5 separate regions of the Homo sapiens genome follow, and all the other regions are linked to region 1. Evidence: promoter capture Hi-C in 16 types of primary human blood cells and fetal thymus (Javierre and others, 2016). All regions are on one chromosome and are shown on one strand. Each heading gives the region's core, a stretch centred on a gene start or on the middle of the fragment in contact. The rest is flanking DNA. Distances are from core to core; before and after follow the strand shown.

What was found. The method cuts DNA at HindIII sites, captures the fragments that hold promoters and counts their contacts. A CHiCAGO score of 5 or more calls a contact.
Region 2: a contact is called between a fragment that was not itself captured here and the fragment with the promoter of PRMT2 in region 1, in 1 of 17 cell types (naive CD8 T cells). The highest score is 5.0, in naive CD8 T cells.
Region 3: a contact is called between a fragment that was not itself captured here and the fragment with the promoter of PRMT2 in region 1, in 2 of 17 cell types (total CD8 T cells and total B cells). The highest score is 6.3, in total CD8 T cells.
Region 4: a fragment that was not itself captured here is called in contact with the fragment with the promoter of PRMT2 in region 1 in 2 of 17 cell types (monocytes and naive CD8 T cells); the score reaches 5.7 in monocytes.
Region 5: a contact is called between the fragment with the promoter of SPATC1L here and the fragment with the promoter of PRMT2 in region 1, in 3 of 17 cell types (M2 macrophages, total CD8 T cells and total CD4 T cells). The highest score is 7.9, in M2 macrophages.

The regions. Positions count from the first base shown.
Region 1 is chr21:46,634,221-46,636,933 of GRCh38, reverse strand. PRMT2 (protein arginine methyltransferase 2) reads right to left here and starts at 1,260. Exons shown (of 12, transcript NM_206962.4): 1 at 1,171-1,260; 2 at 387-495; 3 at 1-38. RefSeq lists silencers at 842-1,391, 1,502-1,721 and an enhancer at 1,492-2,162. The HindIII fragment of the contact is 1,501 bases long and covers 578-2,078 here.
Region 2 is chr21:46,293,755-46,296,685 of GRCh38, reverse strand. YBEY (ybeY metalloendoribonuclease) reads right to left here. Exons shown (of 5, transcript NM_001314025.2): 4 at 456-524. Among named protein-coding and RNA genes, the nearest start is that of YBEY, 8.9 kb to the right of the region's middle. RefSeq lists enhancers at 17-311, 738-1,311, 1,557-1,851 and a silencer at 1,557-1,851. The HindIII fragment of the contact is 6,025 bases long and covers 1-2,931 here.
Region 3 is chr21:46,232,826-46,235,525 of GRCh38, reverse strand. It overlaps MCM3AP (minichromosome maintenance complex component 3 associated protein), which reads left to right. Exons shown (of 28, transcript NM_003906.5): 28 at 100-393. The coding sequence ends at 258. All of the region lies in intron 2 of MCM3AP-AS1 (MCM3AP antisense RNA 1), which reads right to left. Among named protein-coding and RNA genes, the nearest start is that of MCM3AP-AS1, 4.9 kb to the right of the region's middle. The HindIII fragment of the contact is 7,035 bases long and covers 1-2,700 here.
Region 4 is chr21:46,319,626-46,322,325 of GRCh38, reverse strand. All of the region lies in intron 1 of C21orf58 (chromosome 21 open reading frame 58), which reads left to right. Among named protein-coding and RNA genes, the nearest start is that of C21orf58, 2.9 kb to the left of the region's middle. RefSeq lists a silencer at 919-1,181. The HindIII fragment of the contact is 4,449 bases long and covers 1-2,700 here.
Region 5 is chr21:46,183,046-46,185,745 of GRCh38, reverse strand. It overlaps SPATC1L (spermatogenesis and centriole associated 1 like), which reads left to right and starts at 1,287. Exons shown (of 5, transcript NM_001142854.2): 1 at 1,287-1,390; 2 at 1,972-2,700. It overlaps LOC124905045 (a long non-coding RNA gene), which reads right to left and starts at 1,199. Exons shown (of 2, transcript XR_007067914.1): 1 at 559-1,199. RefSeq lists enhancers at 2,018-2,621, 2,622-2,700. The HindIII fragment of the contact is 9,696 bases long and covers 1-2,700 here.

The DNA of each region.
Region 1 (2,713 bases), core at 11-2,510:
CTCATAACTGCTGATTTATTTCATTTTCTTTTCCATTTCTACTTTTAAAAAGAGAAGGAGACACAAAGTACTTGTTACATTGCTTAATAATTGAGTTCACTTAACTTCTAATGTGCATGATGTCCTCTACCAAATAGAAGTAAAATGTGTATGTGTGAAGATTAGTGTAGAAATGAAAATTTACAATACTTTACAGAGACAAAAGCATTTAAAAATCATAAACTTCAAATAGTGTGTTTTCTTCACTAGTCTGCAAGGTGTTAATCTTGTTCATTTGCTGAAGCCTGTTAGTTTCTGTTAGATCAGGTGTCGACTTAAGGCAATAAATCAGTATTCATTAATTTCTTAGAAGTGTGATAGCTTTAATTCCAATTAAAAGTCCCTACCTGGGACCTTACAGTGTTTCCACTAACAGGAACCAAGGTCTGCATCTTCCAGTCTTTTCCTTCTTCTCAATTCGTATTTTTCCAGTGATAGTGTAATCCACACACTGCTCTGGGATCAATGTGTTTTTAAAATTGCATAGCAATTCTTTGTTTAAAATGCATGCTTCACTTCTAAATCCAGACTTGAAGCTTATTTTTGTGATATTCGTAGTTACAAATGCTTACTGATTTGCATAATTATATTTTCATTGGAAGACCTGGGTCCAAACTGGGACGGGGTCGGAGTGGAGGCCGCAGTGCGCGCAGGACCCTGCCCTCCTAAGATGCCCTCGGGAGGAACAGGATCATGGAGGGTTGGAACAGGTGGCCAGTGAAGGGGGGTGAGAAGGGGGCAGGAAGCGAGAGGGCCACGCGTGGACGCAGGGGCACGAGAGGGTCAGGCTGGGACAGCGCCGCGAGCTTCGGGGCAGGGGCCGCCAGGCAGGTGGGCGTGGCCGCGAAGGGCGTGACAGAGATGGTGGTGGGGTGGGCGTGGCCGTAGAAGGCGCTGGACGGCGGGAGTGGCCGGGAAGGGGTGCGGCACGCAGGGAAGGGTGTGACGGGGACCGAGCTCCCGTTTGGACGCCAGGGAAAGTGGCTGAGATCGCGAAGGCGCTCGGAGGTCCCAAAAGGGGGCGGAGGCCTCTGTCCGCCAGCGACGCACACGCAGTGCGAGGACGCCTCACCTGGCCTGTCCTTCCTTACGTGCAGTCCAGCCATCTGAGCTGCCCATCAGGACACCTACCTCAATCGCGTTTCTCCGCTGAGTTCCGCGTCCACACCGCCAGCGCGGAGGGGTGGACGGTCCTTTCCAGGAGCCTGAGCCACCGCCCTCAACCCGCGCAAGCGCAGTGCACGCAGGCCGTCAGCCGGGAAGGCCCCGCCCAGGGCCCGGCGCCCCGCGCAGGCGCAGTCCTAAGACGTCCCCCATTCCAGGGAAGCCAAGCCACCGCCCTCGACTTGCGCCGGCGCGTCGCTCACAGATCGTCTGCAGCTGGGGCTGCGCCCCGCGCAGGCGCACTTCACATCTGCGCGTCCCGCGGTCTTGCGAGGCGAGGCCAGGTTCTCCATGTGTGGAGCTCGTCCCCAATCGCCCAGCCCAGCCGCGGGGTTGGGGGGCTCGGCTTGGGGTCCGACCCAGAGGGGCGCGGGGCAGGAGTCCGACCTGGGGCGGGGGGCGGGTTTGGGCCATTCACGGCTTGGGAAGCGACAACCCCTACGAGCCACAAAATGGCTGGGGCTTGGGGGACCCCCCACCTCCTCTGTCTTCCCGCAAATAATTCAGTTAACTTTCCCATCCGCGCTGCGCAGTGTGCGCCCTCTGCCTTTCTTCTGGATAAGTGGAAGCAGAATGATGACGTTTCTGTTGTGGGGAGAGGAAGTTTGGGGTTAAGGAGAAATGGGTGGCGCTAATGCCTGTAAAACATAAAATTCGAAGCCCCCCCTCCCCCGCAGCCGTCTGACTGGACTCCCTCCTTTACCAGGGGACCCTGAAGTTCAACCTGAGAGACTATTCTGGCCTCGAAGGGAAGTAAGAGTTGGACATGCCTTTTTACACTCCTCCAGCATTAACATCAAGGCAGACCTTAAGTCTGATTTAAAAAAAAAAATGTGGAAGGAAAATAAATTTGGGGGCCGCAAAATCATTAAGCTTAAAAGGAAAAGTCAAGTTGGGAACTGCTTAGGGCAAACCTGCCTCCCATTCTGTTCAAAGTCATCTCTCAGCTCACTGAGATAAATGCGTATCTGATTGCCACCTCTGGAGAGGCTAACCAGAAACTCAAGGGAATGCAATGATTTGTCTCATATTTACCTATGACCTGGAAGCTCCCTCCTGCCTTTGCTTTGAGTTGTCCCGCCCTTCCGGACCAAACCAATGTTCATCTTACATATATTGATTGATGTCTCATGTCTCCCTAAAACGTATAAAACCAAACTGTGCTCTGACCACCTTGGGCACATGTCATCAGGGCCTCCGACGGCCGTGTCATGGGCGTGCATCCTTAAATTCAGCAAAATAAACTTCCTAAGTTGACTGAGATCTGACTCAGATATTCAAGGTTCACATTTTGGTAACCACAAAGGGATTCTGAGTAGAGGTGCCACTGACCTTTGACAAATCTGTCAGTCCTTAGTACCAGCTTGAGCTATCTTTATGGCTCAAACCAATAGGACAATTTGCTGAGGCCTGGAAGCACCCCCTCCAGAGAATCCCTGATCTACCCAGATTTAGTCAAGATCTAGTTTATTTTGCTGTACAACTCCTTTTGTGTGTTGGGCGGGGGTTG
Region 2 (2,931 bases), core at 18-2,517, 340 kb after region 1:
GTTTTTCATGACTTTCAGAGAAGCAGTTTGCTCCCAACACGGGCTTGCGTGCGTGTTAACCATGTGGACCGGAGCCCACGTGGGCCTCCGTAGGCGGAGCGCATGGGTCTGGAGGAAACCAACCCGGAACTCACTCCACGCAGAGCTCCCGCCTCCGCCCTGGGTCTGGCCTAGTCTCTAGCTGATTGGACCTTTTTGACCAAGCGCCACGTGCTAGTGTCAGCTGTGGCTCTCGGCCTCTGCACTCAGACCGCTTTCCTTAGTGAACACATTCAGCTGGAAGTATTTGGGGAGCCCGGTGTTGAAAGCAAACATCTGTGTCATTTTTACAAGGGCAGGTCTGAGGTCCAGTTCCTGCGGGGGCGGTCAAGATGGAGGGTGGGGGCTGGCAGGGGCCTGGGGGAGCCTCCTTCCCCCACGCACCCCCTCGGTAGTGGGATGGATGGGCTCCTTACCTGCTGCCACTCTGCCTCCGTGCCGTGTGTGAATCCCAGCAAGTGACAGAGTCCGTGGGTGGCCGTCACCTGTCAGAATAATTTTAAACCGGCTCAGAGGATGACCCCACAGGAACCTGCCCCTTCAGGGCCACCCCAGGGCCACAGGCTGCTCTTGGTATGTGGCTGCAGGACCCCAGGGTTGCTGTGAGACCCCTGGGCAGGAATTACAGGCACTCAGCTTCAGTTCCCTTCCATCTAAAATGGAAAGCAAGCAAGCCCCTTTGAGAGTCTTTAGTCAACGTGGATTGCTGTCTGGGCCAGCACTGTGCTGGGGAGGGGCCCCCAGGATGGAACTGCCCAGCCGCAGGAGCAATGGGCAAGGGGGGATGGAATATGAAGAAGTGGGGAGGGGTGGGTGCCACGGGGTGGTGGGGCAGTGGGGCACCGGCCAGGGGTGGCCTCCCTGCCCTAAGAGGGACGAGGCAAGCGCACAGCCCACACCCCAGGTCCAACCCCCAGTCAGGATGGGGCCTCCGGTGGCCCCTGATTTTACTGAACACTCTGGGTAGAGCTTTGGGGCACAGGCAGCACAGGGAGTGCGGGAGAGGTATGAAGGCGGAGGCGGAGGGAGGTGCAGCTGCTGGTGAGTCAGGAAGACCCACAGTCGCCATGTCCCCCTGGAGAGAGGGCTGGATTAAAGCCCACAGGGGAGGGGCACCCGGATGGAGCCCAGAGCTGGGGGAAGAGGAGGAGGAGGAGGAAGAGGAGGGAGGGCCTGTGGACCCTGAGCAGGCACAGCACCAAGGGGGTTTATGGAGCCACATGGGCCATAGGGGTAGCACTCCCCTGGGGTTTGGGTGGAGGGAAGAGGGAGGTCTGGGAGGTGGGTATCCTTGGGGCTGGCGGGAGGTGCCTGGAGACATGGAGGACAAGGCAGGGTAGATGGAGAGTGCAGCTGAGAGCCAGCCCTGAGCAGAGCTGGCCTGGCCTGTGGCTATGAGGATGGGGTCCTGGGCTGGTGGGCTGGCCCTCCCCTCAGGGTAATAGGGAGCCCCAAGGAGAGGGCTCTGGGCCCGAGGAAGAAATGCCAGGGGAAGACCAGGGAACAGAATCTTAGGTTTGGGGAAAATGGAAGCAGATGTCCACATACCCCCCCGCCCACAGTTGCTGGCCACAGAGATCCCAGGGCTGAATCTCCGGCTGGGCCACTTCCTGTCACTCTCAGAAACTCCCTCTTCCCCAGCAGGGTGTGCATGGCGGGCAAGTCCCACCCAGGTCTGGAGGGAGCAGTTGGGGCCCAGGTTCCTGTGTGGCCGTCCCATCCTTTCACACTGGGTCTGGCTGGGAAGCTCTGCCTCAAGCCACACAGATGCACTTGGATCCACAAGGGCGATTCAGGGCATGGCTGTGCAGCCAAAGGAGGCCAAGTTAAGTATGATTCACTCATACATGGCTTTTCAGAATGCTTTTCCTTTTTTTTTTTTTTTTTTGGCATCAAGCTGCTGAAACCACCTGTGCAAAAATGATAACAGTGAGAGAGGTCTGGGGTGGCTGACTCCACTGAGTCCCGGGCACGGGTCAGGCTAACCGCGGGAGGAATTTAATCTAGAGTCTAACTTGCGTGGCTGTCCCCACTGAGTCCCGGGCACGGGTCAGGCTAACCGCGGGAGGAATTTAATCTAGAGTTTAACTTGTGTGGCTGACTCCACTGAGTCCCGGGCACGGGTCAGGCTAACCGCGGGAGGAATTTAATCTAGAGTCTAACTTGCGTGGCTGTCCCCACTGAGTCCCGGGCACGGGTCAGGCTAACCGCGGGAGGAATTTAATCTAGAGTTTAACTTGTGTGGCTGTCCCCACTGAGTCCCGGGCACGGGTCAGGCTAACCGCGGGAGGAATTTAATCTAGAGTTTAACTTGCGTGGCTGACTCCACTGAGTCCCGGGCACGGGTCAGGCTAACCGCGGGAGGAATTTAATCTAGAGTCTAACTTGCGTGGCTGACTCCACTGAGTCCCGGGCACGGGTCAGGCTAACCGCGGGAGGAATTTAATCTAGAGTTTAACTTGTGTGGCTGACTCCACTGAGTCCCGGGCACAGGTCAGGCTAACCGCGGGAGGAATTTAATCTAGAGTTTAACTTGTGTGGCTGACTCCACTGAGTCCCGGGCACGGGTCAGGCTAACCGCGGGAGGAATTTAATCTAGAGTCTAACTTGTGTGGCTGACTCCACTGAGTCCCGGGCACGGGTCAGGCTAACCGCGGGAGGAATTTAATCTAGAGTCTAACTTGCGTGGCTGACTCCACTGAGTCCCGGGCACGGGTCAGGCTAACCGCGGGAGGAATTTAATCTAGAGTCTAACTTGTGTGGCTGTCCCCACTGAGTCCCGGGCACGGGTCAGGCTAACCGCGGGAGGAATTTAATCTAGAGTCTAACTTGCGTGGCTGTCCCCACTGAGTCCCGGGCATGGGTCAGGCTAACCGCGGGAGGAATTTAATC
Region 3 (2,700 bases), core at 1-2,500, 400 kb after region 1:
ATGAGGTTTCTAACATGATCCAGATCTAGTACCTTCCCAGAGATAGGTCGTGGTTTATTGACATCCCAAAACTGTTCAGTTTCTTTTTTATTCAAATAGAGTGACATGATGAGGGAGCAACTGCAGCTGTCAGAGGCGACAGGAACGTGTCTAGGCGAACGACTAAAGCACCTGGAAAGGCTGATCCGGAGTTCAAGGGAAGAGGAAGTTGCCTCTGAGCTCCATCTCTCTGCGCTGCTAGACATGGTGGACATTTGAGCAGCCTGACCTGTGGGGAGGGGGTCTCTCCCGAAGAGTTTCTGTTTTTACTCAAAATAATGTTATTCTCAGATGCTTGATGCACTGTTGGAAATGTGATTAATTTAATCATGCAGATAAACCATTTAAATGTCAGTCTCCCAGTTTTTCATAATGAAAAGTTGTTTCCCCTGTGTGACCTCTTCAATATTCTCCTATATTCATGACCTCCTCAGATTGTCACCCACCAGCATATGCTCTGAGGCAGTTTAGAGCTTACATTTCCATGTATAAAAGGCGATTCATTCTCTCAGCAAACTTGCAGTCCTTGATGTGCCAGACATCAGTGATGCAGAGATAAAGTAAGACACAGGGCCTCTGCCTGCTAAGCCCACCCAGCTTACATCCAGGAGAGTCAGGTACTTATGTACATAATTCTCAGAGAATGTGCATGAGGCGTGGGCCTGAATTGGTAGCAAGGAAAAAACAGAGGATGGAACAGGGTCTGGTTGGGTAGAGGAGAAACAGAATTCCCGGAGAGGAGTGCAGGGGTGTAGCTGGAGACAGTGTACTTGAGAGGACATGATGAAAGCGTGGAGGTACCAGCTTGGTTGTGTGGCCAGGTGAGGGGAACAGGCCAGCAGGGTGAGGTCAGAGATTCTTGTCACCTTCTTCTGAGAGCTGTGAGAACCCGTTGTTGAAGATTAGGCAGAGAAGTGATCTGGTCACATTTTCTTTTAAGAATGGCATGTAGGGCAGGAATCTTGAGAGGTGGGTGCTGCAGCCATCCAGGTGAAATTCAAAGGGAATAAGCGTGAGTTTGTTAGCAATTGGTGTGAAGAGAGGGGATAAAATTTGAGCCATATACAGAAAGAGGTATTAATAGACTTGGTGATGTTGCGTATGACCACCAATCTTAAACTGGCACTCAGCATCTCCTGACTGTAATCCTACATCCCCAGACTCTATTTCATGTCTTCTCATTCTCTTCAAACCTCCAACATTCTTAGATCATGTCCTCCTTATTTCACTGAGAAAACAACAGCACTAAGAAGAGAACCTCTTCCTCCACCAAATCAATCCCTGCTTCTCCAAACACACACTACTCAACTCAGGGATCTTTAGTGATTAGCTTCATGTAAAGACTTAAATAATGCTATTTCTTAATCTTGACTTGACATTGTTGACTTCCTACAATGGAAGAGGAGTTAGCTTCTCTTACACTGTCTTTCCCACAACATATTATCACCCCCACCCTCGACACCCACATTTCCTCTCCTATTAGTCTCCCTAAGCAGTTTGATATTGGCTGAAACCTGCATTCACAGTTTAGTATAACTGTATGTTTACCATTTCCTGTTGAGCCCTTTATTGGTTTATGATTACATTTCCTTTAGGTACAACTTTTGATTTTTCCTGGAGTTAATTACATTGTTTTTCTCATTTGCTTGGTTTTCTATGCTCTTGTCACTACTTTACCCAAAAGTCGCTGCCCTAAATGTAAAGCTCTTCCCAACAAAGTCATGTGCATCAGGTAATATGCTCCACTTTCTCTTCGAGATGTTCCTGAGAACCCCCTGTCTTCTTGCCATAACTTGGACATTTCCTGGATTCTGAATCATATTTTCCTCTTGCTTGGTTTTCTCTTCTTGATGGAGCCTGTCCTTTAGTAGCCTCCTGAGCTTGAATATCTAAAATGTCTTTATTTCTACTGTAATATTATCAAATATATATCTGGTCTTTGTCTCTGCCTTCTGATATACAACTCCTAAAATCCTTGAGATCTCTAAAGTGATGTCTTTTTGTATGCTAGTAAGATGACTGATGGCGGACAGCTCCTATGTAGCTTCAGGATAGGGACTGGACATCTGAAAGACCAGGGCATGATTAGAGGGGTTGAAACTTTCAGCCCACCCCCCAAACTCCCAGAGGTTGGGGGAGAGGGACTGAAAGTGACGTTGATCGCCAGTGGCCAATGATTTAATCAATCATGCCTATGTAATGAGGGCTCCTAAAAACCCAAAAGGACAGGGTTCAGAGAGCTTGTGGATAGCCAAATGTGTGGGGGCTTCCAGGAAGGTGGACAAGAACACGTCCACATGCTGAGAGAATGGCACTTCGCAACTCCTTGCAGACAGAAGCTCCTGCTCTTGGGACTCTTCTAGGCTTCATCCTGTGTATCTTTTCATCTGGCTATTTGTAGCCTTTAAAATAGCCTTGTAATAAACATGTGTTTCCCTGAGTTCTGTGAACTGCTCTTGTAAATTAAAGCCAAGGAAGGGGTCTTGGGAACCCAGAAGGACAGGTAAAACAACCTGGGGCTTGTGATTGACACTGGACATGGGGCTCAGTCTTGCGGCACAGAGTCCTCAACTTGTGTGATCTGCTGCTATCTCCAGGTAGACGGTGCAGGATTGAAGCGGATACCCAGCTGGTGTCTGCTGTACAGCTGAATGCTTGCTT
Region 4 (2,700 bases), core at 26-2,525, 310 kb after region 1:
CTTGGGTCTTATTTCAGTTCTTTTTTCTTTTCTTTTTTATAGGCAGGGTCTCAGTCTGTCACACAGGCTAGAGTGCAGTGGTGAGACCACCGCTCATTGCAGCCTCAACTTCCCCGGGCTCAGGTGATTCTCCATGTCAGCCTCCTGAGCAGCTGGAATTACAGGCACACCACCATGCCCAGCTAATTTTTGTATTTTTAGTAGACACAGGGTCTCACTGTGTTGCCCAGGCTGGTCTTGAACTCCTGGGCTCAAGTGATCCACCTGCCTTGGCCTCTCAAAGTGCTGGAGTTACAGGCATGAGCAACCTCGCCCAGCCTCAATTCATTTTAAACTATTAAAAAGCTGTCAAGGCCAGGCAACCACTGCACTCCAACCTGGGTGACAGACTGAGACCCTAACTCAAAAAAAAAAAAAAAAAAAAGCTGCCCAGATAAATTTTGTAGATACTCACCCTCAAGGAGGGAAACGTAACTCCCCTCTCCTTAAGTGTAGACCACACATAGCCACTTCCTCCCAAAGAGTGCAATAAAGAAAAGGAGGGAAAGAGCCACTTTATTGTGGAGAAAACTGGCAGACTCCACCTCAGCCAAGTGACGCAGGTCAGCCTCACAGTTATAGTCGAGGTGACAGTGTGTGTCCCTGATGTGATGGGGTGACAGTGGCACTTCACCCCTAGATGCTTCCTTTCTGTAACCTGCAGTCCCAGTCTAACCAGGAGATAATAGACACATTTTAATTGAGGGACATTCTTCAAAATATCTGCCCAGTACTCTTCGAAACTGTCAAGGTCATCAAAAACGAGGAAAGTCTGAGAAGGAGCCTAAAGACACATAACTCAATGTAATGGGGTGTTCTGATGGATACCACATTAGGGACATGAGGCAAACCTAAGGAAACTGTCAAAGTGTGGACTTCAGTTACTTGTGTCTCAATATTGGTTCATTAATCATAACAAATGGGCCAGGTGCACTGGCTTTCACTCAAAAATTAGCTGGGCATGATGGCACGTACCTGTAGTCCCAGCTACTCGAGAGGCTGAGGCAGAAGAATCGCTTGAAACTGGGAAGCAGAGGTTGCAGTGAGCCAAGATTGCACCATTGCACTCTAGCCTGGGCGTCGCAGCGAGACTCTGTCTCAAAAAAAATATATATATATATAACATATGTAGCACACTAAGGTAAGATGTTAATAAGAGGGGAAGCCACACATGTGGTATGTGGGATCTCCATGTACTATCTTCTCAATTACTCTAAATCTAAAACTGTTCTTAAAAACCCTATTTAAAAAAAAAGTCTGACAAATCCATGCCCTCTGGAGCATGTTATGTATACTACTAGAGATCCCGAGGAGGCAATTCTTAGTGCTTCCCATTCACTTGGCAGTCACAGCTGTGGGCACACAGGCTCAAGTCTCTCCTTAAGTCAGTCAGTATTACAAACCATACATAATAGTATACTTGACCACTGCATAAATGTTATAAACATTCCACATCAAGAGAAAGAGGAGAGGAAAAAAAGTTAACCAGTTCAACGAAAAGGAGAATCTGGCAAGGAAGCATCTCTGATGTGGGCAGAGCCTGCAGCAGCAGATGTGGAGGGCTTCTCACAAGTGACAGCAAGACTGTCTGTAAAACGGCCACTTTGACCTGGTGGTGTTCTGCTCTTTTCATGGCCATAGAGTACTCTGGTAAGGACTGATAGTAAGAGTGTCTTGTTTATGTCTTTATCTGGGTGGGTGCAGTATCTACTGATGAGGAAACATCTGGTCCCTGTTGGCCTGATACCCTTTTTTTTTTTTTTTTTTTTTTTTTGAGGTGGAGTTACACTCTTGTTGCCCAGGATGGAGTGCAGTAGTGGTGCCACCTTGGCTCACTGCAACTTCCGCCTGCCTGGCCCTATCTTATAATTTAAAAGGCATCAGGGGCCAGGTGCTATGGCTCACACCTCTAATCCTAGCACTTTGGGAGGCCAAGACGGCAGATCACTTGAGGTCAGGAGTTCGAGACCAGTCTGGCCAACATGGTGAAACCCCATCTCTACCAAAAATACAAAGATTAACTGGGCGTGGTGGCGTGCACCTGTACTCCCAGCTACTCGGGAGGCTGAGGCAGGAGAATCACTTGAACCCGGGAGGCGGAGGTTGCAGTGAGCTGAGATGGCTCCACCTCTGCACTCCAGCCTGGGCAACGAGCAAAACTCCATCTCAAAAAAAAATACATAAGATGGAGTCCTTTTCTCAGATGAGGTCACTTATATCAAGGGTGCTCTATACAGTTGCTTAACTAAATTAACCTGGTTTTTGTTCTGTGCACACTCAGAGCTGTTTAAATGTCTCCCAAGACTGTCACTGTTAATGACTGTGGACAAGAGCCAGGTTCTTTTATTATCTTGTTTATTTATTTTTTTATTTTTTTTATTTTTTTTCCAGACGGAGGTTTTGCTCTTGTTGCCCAGGCTGGAGTGCTGTGGCGCAATCTTGGGTCACTGCAAACTCTGCCTTCCGATTTCAAGCAATTCTCCTGCCTCAGCCTCCCGAGTAGCTGGGATTACAGGCGCCTACCACGACGCCTGGCTAATTTTTTGTATTTTTAGTAGAGACGGGGTTTCACCATGTTGGCCAGGTTGTCTCGACCTCCTGACCTCGTGATCTGCCTGCCTCAGCCTCCCTAAGTGCTGGGATTACAGGCATGAGCCACCG
Region 5 (2,700 bases), core at 38-2,537, 450 kb after region 1:
TTTTTATTCTCATTCAACTTGAAATATTCTCTGGTTTCCTTCGTGCTTTTGTCTTTTTCAAGACTTTTTTAAGAGGAGTTTTAGGTTCTTAGCAAAATTGAGAGGAAGATAGAGAGATTTCCCCACTCGCTGCCCCAACAAATGCACAGCCTCCCCTATTATCAACAAACTACCTGACAGCCACAATTGTCAGCAAAACGCACATGAGGGAAAAATATAAAATATAAGTAGCGTTGTATCTATTTAAGAAATTGATTTAGAAATTTAAAACTTTTCCAGAAGAAATCTAGTTCTAGATAGCTTCACAGATGAATTCTATCCGACGTTTAAGAAGGAACACCCAGAAAATGGCGCAGAATCTCTGCGGCTCATTTTAAAAGGCCAGTGTTCCAAAGCCAGACCGAGACATCACAAGAAAAGGAGATTCAGATCGACTTCCCCTGTGAGCATAAAAATACTTAAAATATTAATAAATTGAATCCAGCGCTATATTAAAAGGATAATGTGTCAAGACCAGAAAACTGTCAGAATGTTGATAGGTCCGTGGCTGGAGAGTACCTGACGTCAAGAGAAGGTTTCCTTGGAGCGGGAGGAAGACGGCATTTAAAATATGATGGGAGGAGCCAGGGCAGGAAAAGCCATTCAGGGCCCCGTCGGGCTCAGAGCGGGGGGCGCATCCGTGACTCATCCCTCGCTTCTCTCTCTGCCCTGCATCCTGGACGCCCTGCATGCCCTCGTCAGTGGGCTGTGGCTGGGCCCCCGTTGTCTTGATCTGAGGTGTGAGCCCTGTGGTGCAACACCAGGCTGGTTGGGTTGTGTCAGGAACGCTTGGGGTGTAGAAACCTCCTTTCTCCACAAAGCCTGACTCAAGACTTTCTCTCCTAGAAGCAACCTTCCCCTAATCTGGCCGCCCGGGCTGAATGAAGGTGGTGTTCTCCCAGGGGCATCTGCACCTGAGTGCCCTTGGTGGTCCTGAGTGCCCGTCACAGGGCTGGAGGTGTGGCCGGCCCACTGGGATGGTGGTGGTGGTGGGTGCCCATCACAGGGCTGGAGGTGTGGCCGGCCCACTGGGTTGGTGGTGGTGGGTGCCCGTCACAGGGCTGGAGGTGTGGCCGGCCCACTGGGTTGGTGGTGGTGGGTGCCCGTCACAGGGCTGGAGGTGTGGCCGGCCCACTGGGTTGGTGGTGGTGGGTGCCCGTCACAGGGCTGGAGGTGTGGCCGGCCCACTGGGTTGGTGGTGGTGGGTGCCCGTCACAGGGCTGGAGGTGTGGCCGGCCCACTGGGTTGTGCTTTCTGCCGTACGTCCCTTCCCATGAGGATGAGATGACCCATCTGTTGCATCCCGGCTGCTGATAAAACAAGACCCTCGGAGCCAAGAAACAACACTGAGGTGATTTACTTTCCCAAGTAATTGAAGCAGGGAGTCAGGGTGGGTTTCAAGTCGGTCGCACTGACTGAGGACAGACGCCTGCTCTAGCAGGGCCCCATGAGCCGCAGCCCTGTGTGACGGCCCGAGGGGCCGTGGCCATGGGTTGGGGGCGTCCTCAGTTACGTGCAGGCAGGAGCAGTGCAGTCAGGAACAATTGGTGTCTTAGACACGGGCGCTCGTGGTCTGAGGGGTGGACATGCACTGCTGGACCCTTCTCATCAGGGAGTGAGGTCAGTAGGTGGCCTCCAGCCCAGCCCTCAGGGCCACCCAGTGCTCCAAAGCATGTGGGGGCCATCGTGGGGCTGCCTCAGGCTGGTCTCCCCACCCTAGGCTGGTCTCCCCCGCAAGACTGGTCTCCTCCCCCAGGCTGGTCTCCCCCACAAGGCTGGTCTCCTCCCCCAGGCTGGTCTCCTCACCAGGCTGGTCTCCTCCCCCAGGCTGATCTCCCCGCCCAGGCTGGTCTCCCCCGCAGGCTGGTCTCCCCCGCAAGCTGGTCTCCTCCCCCAGGCTGGTCTCCTCACCAGGCTGGTCTCCTCCCCCAGGCTGATCTCCCCGCCCAGGCTGGTCTCCCCCGCAGGCTGGTCTCCCCCGCAAGCTGGTCTCCTCCCCCAGGCTGGTCTCCTCACCAGGCTGGTCTCCTCCCCCAGGCTGATCTCCCCGCCCAGGCTGGTCTCCCCCGCAGGCTGGTCTCCCCCACAAGGCTGGTCTCCTCCCCCAGGCTGGTCTCCTCACCAGGCTGGTCTCCTCCCCCAGGCTGATCTCCCCGCCCAGGCTGGTCTCCCCCGCAGGCTGGTCTCCCCCGCAAGCTGGTCTCCCCTGCAGGCTGGTCTCCTCCCCAGGCTGGTCTCCCCCGCAGACTGGTCTCCCCCACAAGCTGGTCTCCCCACCAGGCTGGTCTCCCCCACATGCTGGTCTCCTCCCACTGCCCTTGCCAGTCCCTCCCTCCTCAAGTGTGGGTGCCAAGGACGGACCCTGATGAACACCTGCACATCAGTTGCTGCCCTGGGTGCCAGGGTCCACAGGAAGCTGCACTGGGAACCCTGTGTCCTGGGCAGGTCCTATGGGAAGTGCAGCCCACATGTTACTCGGGTGAAGGCAGCGTCCCCACCCAGCTTGAGGACACCACACAGGGTGGACACCCGACCCTGGCTGGGCCGCTCAATGGGGAGTGGCTTGGACGCCCCTCTTGGAGTACAGTCGCTACATCCCGTAGCTGCCTAATGTCCTTGGCATTCTCGGGCCCTGGTCATAATGTGGGAGTGGCTGCCTGT